Regions from separate parts of the Homo sapiens genome. Here region 1 is linked to region 2. The links are contacts of gene promoters, found by promoter capture Hi-C in blood cells and fetal thymus (Javierre and others, 2016). All regions are on one chromosome and are shown on one strand. Each heading gives the region's core, a stretch centred on a gene start or on the middle of the fragment in contact. The rest is flanking DNA. Distances are from core to core; before and after follow the strand shown. Region 1 overlaps PDE6A (phosphodiesterase 6A). Region 2 holds the start of CARMN (cardiac mesoderm enhancer-associated non-coding RNA).

Evidence for each region. The method cuts DNA at HindIII sites, captures the fragments that hold promoters and counts their contacts. A CHiCAGO score of 5 or more calls a contact.
Region 1: a fragment that was not itself captured here is called in contact with the fragment with the promoter of CARMN in region 2 in 1 of 17 cell types (M1 macrophages); the score reaches 5.6 in M1 macrophages.

What each region holds. Positions count from the first base shown.
Region 1 is chr5:149,932,894-149,938,542 of GRCh38, reverse strand. PDE6A (phosphodiesterase 6A) reads left to right here. Exons shown (of 22, transcript NM_000440.3): 2 at 3,825-3,977; 3 at 4,524-4,613. It also overlaps the pseudogene MFFP2. Among named protein-coding and RNA genes, the nearest start is that of PDE6A, 9.1 kb to the left of the region's middle. The HindIII fragment of the contact is 756 bases long and covers 3,675-4,430 here.
Region 2 is chr5:149,404,882-149,410,430 of GRCh38, reverse strand. CARMN (cardiac mesoderm enhancer-associated non-coding RNA) reads right to left here and starts at 3,586. Exons shown (of 5, transcript NR_105060.1): 1 at 3,353-3,586. RefSeq lists enhancers at 2,097-3,097, 4,948-5,538. The HindIII fragment of the contact is 6,163 bases long and covers 3,051-5,549 here.

The sequences.
Region 1 (5,649 bases), core at 2,803-5,302, 530 kb before region 2:
TCGATCTTATTCACCACTGGCCCCTGGCACCTAGCCCAGTGTCTTGGACAGAGTGCATACTTACCATAGTTTATTGAGTGAGTGAATGACTAAATGTCAGCCCTTCACCAGCACTTCCTCTGGCTAATAAATTCCATTTCTGAAGGCTGTACCTGAGATGACCGTCATTTGTAGACCCTCTCACATTTGTTATCTGCCCCTGCTTTCCTTCATTTCCCATGAGACCTGAGACCTAGCAGGCTAGAACAGGAAAACAAAGAAAAAAAAAACCTTCACAGAGGACCTTATTCAATACTCTGACTTCAGCAAAGGGGAAATTGAGGTTCAGAGTGTTTTCAACTACTGACAATGTACTGAGTGGCCCTTGAAGCCACTCATAGGACAAGTTTCTCCTTATCTGGGTCCCCAGCGTGGTCTGCTTCACATGCTTTGAGTCGTGGGCTCATGTTTTGCATGACATTCCACTATACCATGAGAACCCACTGAGAACAACCTCATCTTACAGGTCTTTGCATATACAATGCCTGGCATAGTGAGTGCTCAATGAATATGAATGAATCAATCTGTCAATCAGTGAATCAATGAATAAGTCAATGAATGAATAAGTGGAGCAACTGTGCCACTTACCAGCAAGGGAGTTGTCTATAAAATGGGAAAGGTGGCAGTTCTATTTGGCAGGGCTGATGTGAGAGTTAATGAGATAATATATGTCAGTTGTCTGGCTCTGAGCCTAGTCATTATTACTCAGTAAATAGTAGATCTCATCATGAGATGCAACAGAGCTTGGCACTGTGAATGTTTGCAAAGGGGAAATGAGGAATCTGGGAATGAGAAGTAGTGTTGCATTGCACTTTAAAATCCAAACTCAGCCAGGTGCAGGCTGACACCTGTAACCCCAGCACTTTGGGAGGCCGAGGTGGGAGGATCACTTGAGCCCAGGTGTTCAGGACTACCCTGGGCAACACAGCAAAATCCTAGTGTTACAAAAAATACAAAAATTAGTCGGGCATGGTGGTACGCCCCTGTTGTTTCAGATTCTCTGGAGGCTGAGGTGGGAGGATGGCTTGAGCTCAGGAGGTCGAGGCTGCAGTGAGCCATGATGGCTACACTGCACTCCAGCCTGGATGGCAGAGCAAGACTCTGTCTCAAAAATAAATAAGTGAATACATAAAAATGAAATCAAAACTCTTTCCCATGGCCTCCAAAGCCCTGCTGGATCTGGCCCCTGCCTGCCTCTTTAACTTCCTTGCCCTCTGCTTTCCCTCTCCCTCTCTATGCTTTAGCTACACTGATTTTCTTTCTGTTCCTCACGAGGACCAGCCTCATTCCTACCTGCTGGCCTTTGCATGCTCCGTGCTTAGAATGTGCTTCATATACCTGGCTCCCTTGATCCTTCAGCTCTTAGCTCAGCATTACATCTTCAGAGAAGGCTCCCTACCCACCAGCCTGCCATCCCTTTCATCACTCTCTACAGCACCATCCAGTCCATTTCCTTCAAAGCAGTTTCCTCAAGTTGGAGGAAGAATGCCTAGTTGTTTACTTGCTTTTTTGTCTGTCTCGCCGTTTGAATGTAAGGTTCACCTTATATTACAACAGTAATGTTCATTGCTGTAGTTTCAGGGTCTGGAAGAGTGCCTAGCATATGGAAGACACTCTGATAATGCTAACTGAATGGATGAATCACTTTGGTCTTTCCCTAGCTCAGCCTCTGATTCTAGGATTTAAAATAAATATAAGTTGGTGCAAAAGTAATCGTGGTTCTTGCCATTACTTTTACTAGTTTGAGCTAAATGGCTTCTAAGTCTCCTTCTGCCTTTGATAATCTGAGATTCTGTGACATGGTTGTTTAGAACACTTTATATGCTGAATATATAGGGATGATAATGATCATGTAAATGCCAGTCAATTGGCAGTTGAAGTACTCATGAGGGGAGTTCCAGGACTGAGTACCCAGTGGGAATGAGCTTTCTGGTGGATTTGGTAGCATCTGCCTTGGATGCAGGTGAGGCCCAAATATTTGCTTTTCCTGAAAGAAGTGAACATTGGGAAACTGAAATGACTTCATGAAATGAATCTGAGCATACTCCACCTAGACACGTGCTCAGGAACTCATCAGTAGCTTAGAAAATGACACAGATACCACTTCTTGACTAATGCCTTTTTAGAGATTTTGCTTAATCCTCAAATGTTAATTCAAGTACAGCACTACAAGCTTCTCTTAATTCCTTTACCCTTCACCTGGTTTTAAACAGCTTCACTGATAATAATGCTGTTGACTATTTATTTAATCCCATTCCAACTAGAAGAAATCTATAGATGCAGAGCATTATGCTCTGAATTCCTTCCTTCCTTCCTTCCTTCCTTCCTTCCTTCCTTCCTTCCTTTTTTAGAGACAGGGTCTTGCTCTGTCACCCAGGGTAAAGTGCAATGGTACAATCATAGCTCACTGCAGCCTCCAACTCCTGGGCTCAAGCAATCCTCCTGCCTCAGCTTCCTGAGTAGCTGGAACTACAGGCACATGTCACCACACCTGGCTAATTTTTTTTGAGTTTTAGTAGATACAAGATATTGCTATGTTGCCCAGGCTGGTCTTGGACTACTGAACGCAAGCAATACTCCCACCTTGGCCTTCCAAAGTGCTGGGATTATAGACGTAAACCACCACGCCTGGCCCAGACTTAGTTTTAGAAAAGTTCTGTGAATTGGCTCTATGAAGTACATTTCCACTCAGAACGGCGTGAGCTGAGCATGTTTGGGCTGGCCCGCCTCCCAAGCAATGCTGACAGTCCAAAAACCTCACAGTGCTACCAATAAACAGAAAGGAGGATTCTTGTAAATTTAAGAGAACAATTCAAGCTCTGTCTTTTCATCCTGACCGCATGGTCCACCACAGCCTATAATGGCTTCTCTGGGCTGCATTAGGGGAGGTTTATGGAGGTGTGTGCTCCTCTATACACTCAGAGCTTCAAGCCAATCCCTTGTGACCTACATTACTATTATTGATTTTTCTTTGAGCTGGCCTGAACCTTGGTCACCCATATCCCCCGTGCTTAACATAAGGCCTGACACATAGTGGGGTTTCTACTAAGATTCGTAGAATGGGGATATCTACTGAACTGGTTGTGTGGTGCTAGAACTGGATTGTTTAAAAAGCTGAAAATAACAAATTCTTTTGTTCAATGACCTAGACCCAAGTCTAACCTTATCCAGGCTTCTCTAAGAGGCAGCAGAGCTGAAGGCAGGCTCTGGAGTTACACATACACACACACACACACACTCACACACACAGTCTACACAATCTACACACATGACATTAACCTTCTTGAGTTACAGATCCCCCTTCTGTAAGATGGGCTACTGATGGTACTTATCTCATAGCTTATTGCGAAGATAAAAGTAAGATAACGCAGGTAAAATGCCATGCACGCTGCCTGCTAGCAACTGTCGTTGTACTTCCTAAAGTCTTTACCCGGCTTCCTCTTAGCTGTACCCTGGGTTTTTATTCTGGGCTTAATTGTCATCACCTCAAGAAAGCCTTCTCTAACCCTCCTTCTCCAGGCAAAGTCAGTCCCCCACTCCCATCCCTGGAACCCACACTGCTTTGCACACCTCTCCTCCACAGCCCTCAGTGGATTTCATCTCAGACTTTCTTCTTCTACTGGATTTTGGAAGCTTCCATGACAGATGTCATCTCTGATTTCCCTGCCCCTGTTGAAGAGGAATAGATGGAAGCACCTTTATTCCCTTGTCAACAGGGGCTTTGGGCCGTTCCACTGTTCTTGCTCTTCATTTGCCTGTCCGTGCTTATCTCTGCCTTCCTTTAGGATGAGCATTTCTGTGACTTTGTGGACATCCTCACAGAGTACAAGACCAAGAACATCTTGGCTTCCCCCATAATGAATGGGAAGGATGTGGTGGCCATAATCATGGCTGTGAATAAAGTGGATGGATCCCACTTCACCAAGAGAGATGAAGAGGTAAGAATGCTTTAGAGACTAAGGATAGCCATGCTAGCACATTCTCCCAGCCTATGAAGTCCCCTGAACTTTGCTGTTTGACCTGGCCTCAGTTTTCCCATCTGTAAGACAGGGAATTCACCTGATGTTCTCTGAGGGAGGCAGGATAAAATAATAGTTAAGACATTGGGCTTTGGAGTCAGGAATAGAGGGATAATTGTTCTGGCTCCGCCAATAGCTGTTTGCCTTTTGCAAGTTATTTAACTTCTTTGAACTTTGGTTTTCTTATTTGTAAAATGTTGATAATTTTTCAGTATCAACCTCATAGGGAACTTATTAATAAATAGTAGCTATTTTTCATGAATACACTCCCATCAACATCAACATTCTACATTCGGTGAGTTTTATGCTCATGCAACATCTTATGAGTCTGCATTCTAGGATCCATCTGCCCAAATTGTCTCTGATGAAGCTTTGAAAATATTCAGATATTTGCTGATGGTAAAAGTAGCCAGAGGATGGATTTCTTCTTCTCACCTGCCTCCCCTCATGCTGTTTGATTTTTAGATTCTTCTCAAGTACCTCAATTTTGCAAATCTAATCATGAAGGTGTACCACCTGAGTTACCTGCACAACTGTGAAACTCGACGTGGCCAGGTAAGGGGCTTGGGCCAAGGGAATGGACTTGACTCGTCCTTTCCCTGAAGCATTGATGTGGTCAGGACTGGCAGGCAGATGGGAATGAAGGTGCCTAGGAAGCCAGTCTCTGGCCAGCATCACGAGTGTTATGAGGTAGTGGTTGTCTGTAAAGCTGTATACCACAGTGGTTATATGCACAAGCTTCAAGACAGATGGCTTTGATCTGAATCCCTGCTCAACCACTGCCTAGCTCTAAGACCCTAAGTGAGTCACTTAATCTCTCTATGCTTCAGTCTCCCCATTTGAAAAATAGGGATGATTATGGTGCCACCCTCAAAAGGTTGCCATCAATAGTAAACGAGATAATGCATATAGGGCAATAGTGCTCAATTGAAGTTTCTTATTATTTTTATTAAAAACCTATGAGATAAATGAAAGGGAAAGAGCTGGACCCAATGTAAAGCAGCCAGTTACTTCATCTCTCTGAGCCCCAGTTTGTTTGTCTACAAATGGAAGATAATTGGACTGGGCATGGTGGCTCACGCCTGTAGTTCCAGCACTTTGGGAGGCCAAGGCAGGAAGATTGCTTGAGCCCAGAAGTTCGAGACCAGCCTGGGAAACATAGTAAGACCCCATCTCTATTTTTAAAATAAAATTTTTAAAATAAATGGATGATAATGGGCTGGGTAAGGTGGCTCATGCCCATAATCCCAGCACTTTGGGAGGCTGAGGTAGGAGGATTGCTTGAGGCCAGAAGTGGAAACTCATCTCTACAAAAAATTTAAAGATTATCTGTGTGCAGTGGCGTCCACCTGTAGTCCCAGCTGCTGGGGAGGCTGAGATGGGAGAATTGCCTGAGCCCGGGAGTTGGAGACTACAGTGAGCTATGATCGTGCTACTGTACTCCAGCCTGGATGACAGAGTAAGACTCTGTCCCTAAAAAATAAATACATAAAAACAAACACTTTAGCTTTTGCGCTTCTGCCCTGGCCCTCTGCTGGCCACTCCGCCGGTGCTGTGCCTGGGCGCCTCCGTGCTCTCGGCCAACTGCCTC
Region 2 (5,549 bases), core at 2,337-4,836:
GGTCATCACAATTCGAACCAGCCTTCATCATGGTTCTTCGAACCACCCCATGGCGCTGAGCCCCCCCGGAGAGTTTAGTTGGAAAATTGCAGGAAGAGGCCATGCCCAGGCACGGCCCAGCAGTGAGGACCTCAGAGATTACCTCCCCGAACCCCTCAGGCTCAGCTGGGAATCAGAACAGCCACTTGAGTCAGTGATGGTGTGTGGTGTGGAGCCTGGATCTTTCTATTCCTCAAGGATAGGTGTTGGCTGAGTGCAGTGGCCCATGCCTGTAATCCTAGCACTTTGGGAGGCTGAGGCTGGGGGATCACTTGAGCCCAGGAGTTTGAGGCCAGCCTGGATAACATGGCGAAACCCTGTCTCTACAAAAAAACACAAAAAATTAGCCAGATGTGGCACACATCTGTAATCCCAGCTACTTGGGAGGCTGAGGTGGAAGGATCACTTGAGCCTGGGAAGCAGAGGTTGCAGTCAATTGAGAAGAGTCACTGCACTCCAGCCTGGTTGACAGAGGGAGACCTCATTTCAAAAAAAAAAAAAAAAATGGATAGGTGTCAGGTGTCAGGTGTCATTTTCCCCCAGAACTGGCCAGGCTGGGAAGGGGCTGATTTTGCCCAAAGGGCTGTGGTGTGGCTGTGAGGGACCAATGACAAACTTTCTGTTGCGGGGCAGCAACAGGGTTGAAGGGAGAGCAGTGGCCTCAGAGCTAGAAGGCTTGGGCTCAGGCTCCGGCAGGGCCTCACTCCTGGCCTCCGTCTCCTCTGTGAGGTGGGATTCTTCATCACTGCCCTCAGAGGTGTCGGGGTGGGCAGCCCAAGAGTGTGCGTTCTGCAGATGCATAGACTAGGTTCAAATCCCCTTCACCACTTTTTAATTGCGTGACATTGGGTAATCTGCAGTGGTTTCCTTCTCTAGAAAGTGAGGGTGATGGAATGATGCTGATTCCTGCCTCACAGGAATCCTGGGAGGATTAAATGATAATGCAAGCTGTTCAGCACAGTGTCTGACTCCCAGAAGTCTCCCATACATATTCTGCCCCCTTCCATGAGGTCTGTTGGAGGGTCTCCAGGAAGTTTTGAGGTAGCTAAGAGGCAGGGCAGGAGGTGGGAGACTCCTGGGGGAGTTAGCAGCCCCAGGGGCAGCTGGCACACACAACTTAACAACTCATGAGCTGTGTGACCTCAGGCAAGCCACCTAAACTCTCTTTGCCTCAGGTACCTCATCTGTGGAGTGGGGATAATAATTGCCCCTTCCTCACTGGCTCTTGTGAGGATTAAATGAATTAGTTCATGTGAAGATCTGAGGTAGTGCCTGGACCTCATAAGAACTCCACAAATAGTGTCATCTATTTCTCCTGATTTGCACCACCTTATGGAATCCCTGGCTGGGCAGAGAGGCAGGTTCTGTTCCACCTCTGCCATCAGCTCGCTAAATAACCTAAAGCAGTGCTTTCTCTCTGTGGATTCCGTTGCCTCGGCAGTTTGTGAGAGTCCTAGGCCGCCCTACAGCCTGGCATTTCGCAAACTTCCACATGCATGGGAATTCATGGGGTGCTTGTAATGCAGATTCCTAGGCCTCACTTGGGGTCCCCCGTCAGTGGGTGAGTGCACAGTGGTTCAGATACATTGCCCACACAATGCCCTAGAAAGGCAGGAAAGGAGATCCCCCCCAGTCCTTCAGGCATCTCAAGCTGATCACTTTCCTGTGTCCCACAGCCTCTGACTTTTGATTCCTCCTGCCTCTTTCCAGAGCCTGTTCCAGAGCTCTTCAGCAACTCTGGGCATTCCCTGGCCGGGTTTCATTCCCACTTCTCCCTCAACATAGCTCAGGGTATCTTGCCCGCAGGAGGTGTGGGCTCTGACTGCGATGTAACATCAGCCCCATTCATCCTGCTCTATGTGCCTACATCCCTCACTCCTCATGACAACCATGCAAGCTCAGAATTGTACCCATTTTACAGAGGAGGAAGCTGAGGCTCAAACAGCAAGCAACTTGCCCAGGGTCACTTGTCCAGTAAGTAAACAAGCCAGAATTGGACCCAGGCAGTTGAATTCAGAGCCTCCTTCTGAACCATGATGGCCTTGGGTCTTGTGTGACAAGAAGCGGGAAGGTGGAGGGTACAAGACAGAGGCCGGTGCTAGAGGACTGTTCTGTTCTGGGCTCCGGATGTGGCCAGAGTGTTTTCAGAGGAGCCCGACTCCATGCTGTCTGTACATCTTCAAGTTCCAATCCTAAGCCCCTGCCTCTACCCAGCCCTGCCTCCCATCACAAGCCTCCTGCATTCCTCTAAGTCCCCTGGCCCCACTGCTTCATCCCGCGAAGCCCTCTGCCATCTTTTCCATCCCTTACCTACTTCCATGTCCCACATTCCTGTGTGGTTGAATCCAGAGATCAGTCCTTTCCCCACCAGAGGCTGGTTGCAGCCAAGTTCATCTGGAGGGCTCGGGGCACCCCTCTGGCCAAGCCTTCAGTCACAGAACCTTCAGCTACTCTCCCTCACTCAGGCTCAACCTCCAAAAGCTCCCACAGGACTTCATCTGCTTGGACTCCAAGCTTGTGGTCAAAGTTCAGACTCGGCTCAGGGACCTCCTGGGGGAACTTCCCAACACTGGCTGTCCCTCAGGCACAAACAACTCAGAAGCCACATCTGCAGAGGGACCATTTTGTCCAATGGCCTTGCTATACAGATGGGAAAACTATGGCCCAGAGAAGGGAGGGGGCCAGCCCAAGACCACAGAGCCGGGCACTGAGAGCAGAGCTGGGGCCGGAGCTTAAGTGCCCCCGTCTCCTCTCACCAGCATCCCTTCCCATTGCTCCATGTGCAGTCAGCACCCAGCCTTCCCAGGATCTCTGCCTGCCTGCCAGAGCCTGAGCTTACATTGCCTCTTCCCCAGCTTTGTTTCTCGAAACCATTATTTGAAAACCATTTTCCTTGCCAGGAGCCCCAGGCTCTTGGAATTACAAAATCAAAGCCCCACACAATGAGGAAGAAGCACTGCCTATGTAGAAGCCAGGGAGACTGCCTGAGACTCGGGTGCCGAGGTGAAGCTTGGGCTGATAGGATGTTAACTCTGTGCACTCCCTCTGCACCTTCTTCCCCCAATTGACTACAACAACAAGGAATCCTAGAAGCCAACAGGACCATAGAACTAGAGCCGATCAGCTGGATGGATGCTTAGAGATCATTGACTCCAGCCCCTGTACAGATGGGGAAACTGAGACCCAGAGAATCTGTGTCCAGAAAGGGACAGAGCCAGTTAGCAAGACAGCAAGACCCCCAGATGCAGCATCCCCCTAGGGAAATTCCCAGAGGCCCCCACCCACGGATCCCAGGTCTGCCGTTGGTGCTTACCTTTCCTGGGGTCTGGTCCAGGTGTGGCTCCTTGGGGCCTGGAGACGGGAGCCAGCCTGTTTGGGGAGTGGTTGGGGGTGTCACTGCTTCTCAACTAATTAGACCCAGCCTCTGGTGCCCCTCGCTGCCACAGGGGCATTTTTAAGCAGCTGGCACTGAGCCCCCCTCCCCTTAGTCCCTTGCCTGCGGCTCCCTGGCCACAGAGGCCACTCTGCCTTTTACCTTATATGAGCTGAAGAGGCAAGCCCCGTATTGGGGCGAGGCGGGTGCTGAGCCCTCCCAGGGCCCCCCATTGGCCCAGGCACCCCCCACGTGACTACCTTGCCTTGACCTGCCCCCGGTGCTGAATGTTGCTTTTACCCCCTAAGGAAGGAGTGGTTGACAATTTTCATATTTCTTCTAAATTTGGAGATTTCAGACAATGCTGGGAGCCTTGGCTCCAGCCACCAGAGGCCCATGTGGAAGTCATTAAGCCTGAGAAGGGGGGCAGGGGAGAGAGGGAGGCAGGGAGAGGAGGAGGAGGAGGAGGAGGAGGAGGAGGAGGAGGAGGAGGAAGGGGGTGGGGAACAGAGTTCTGAGGGTTGCCAGTTGTCAGCCTGGGAACAAGAGCAAACTCCCTGGGAGAAAGCTGTGTGAGAATTTCCTTCCTCCCCCAGCCCCTGTGTCCCAGGACTGCAGTGGGAGTTCTGAGACTTTCTGGGAACCTCCAGTAGGGGAGACACCAGTCCTGGCTCCTGGAATCTGGGTGATGGGAATTGGGGGAACAGGAGAACATGGGGAAGGAGAGCCCAGACCGTGGGAAGCTACTCCCATCATCATGCAAACGAGGCCTGGGCCTGACAGGGAAGATCCTGACCCAGCCACCTGGCAGGGTCACCACAGGGCAGGGGTTTGAATGTGGAATGTCCTTCAGGGGGCTCTCTTTTCCCTGCCACCGCAGTCCTGAGAAATGCCCATCTCTTGCCGGAGTCCCTCTTTCTCCTTTTGCTTGGCCACCTTGGCCTCCTACAGATTCTTTAGTGTTTTTCATGCCTCAGGGCTTTTGCACTTGCATTGCTCGCTGCCAAAAATGCCTTCTTCCCAGAGCTCATGCTGCTCCTTCCCCTGCTCCTGTCTCCCACTCAGAAGTCTCCTCTGGAAGAGCCATTCCCTGGCCCCCTCAGTATTCTGTCACACCCTCTGCTTGCTTCCCGCTTCGGACTCGCCACGCATGTGCCTATCTTACATGTCCACGGTTCTAGTTTCTTGCTGGCTAGCTCTTTCATGAGAGTGTGACTTCCCCTGGCAGGCTCTGTGTCCCCAGGCTTCCTAGAGTGTCTGTGAAGAAAGGTCAGAAAACACAAATCAAGGGATCACGTGAACCAGGCCTCGGCTGCCAGCCTAGGAGTGTCGTGCTGAGGCCCATGGAGGTCTTCTCCCAGGGGCCAGCGGGGCCTGCTCCCAGGGCTGCCACCGGGTCCTGCCTTCCACTGCGCAGAGCTTCCCTTCTGCAGCCAGGCCTGCTGGACCCCAGCGGTCTCTGTTCACGGCCTCATTCACAGTTCCTCAGACCCCCAGCCTGGATGGGCCTGCCAATCCCTCTCTCCTCCTTCCAGGCCAGAGGCTGTGGTCTGCCTGTCACCGACCCTGGGACCCCCTCCAGCAGCACACGGGGCCTTGTGACATCCTGAGTGGGGCCAGTTGAGGGCCCGAGGGGGTGGGGTGCTGAATCAGACACTGTCCCTGACCTTGAGAGCCTCCCAGTCCAACAGGAGGATTAAAAATGCCATGTCCTTACCCCTCCACCCTCCCTCATTCCTTCTGAGGAAAGAATTCTGTTGGTGTTGAAAGGCCGGTGGGCTTCTTCCTGCCTTGGCCACTTCCTAGCTGTGAGGTCTGCCGCTCCCAGCCTCCCTTTCCCCCGGTGCCTCCCTTTCCCCTTGGGTAAAATGGCGAGAATCACACCTGCCTTCAGCATTGCCATGAGGGCTGGGCGAGGTGGCCCGTGCAGTCCTGGAGGAAGGTGTGAGCAGGACTCGAGTGAGACTGGGCTCAGCCCTGCCCCTCTGCTCCCAATGGTGGGGCTGGGGAAAGCCCTCTGGGAACTAACTTCTGTGAAGATCACTGTCTCCTCTGTAGCACAGAGTCAATGGTTGTGAAGGTTTAGCCCCGAGCCTGCTTCAGAGTGAGTGCTTGATCGATGTAAGCTATGACTCAG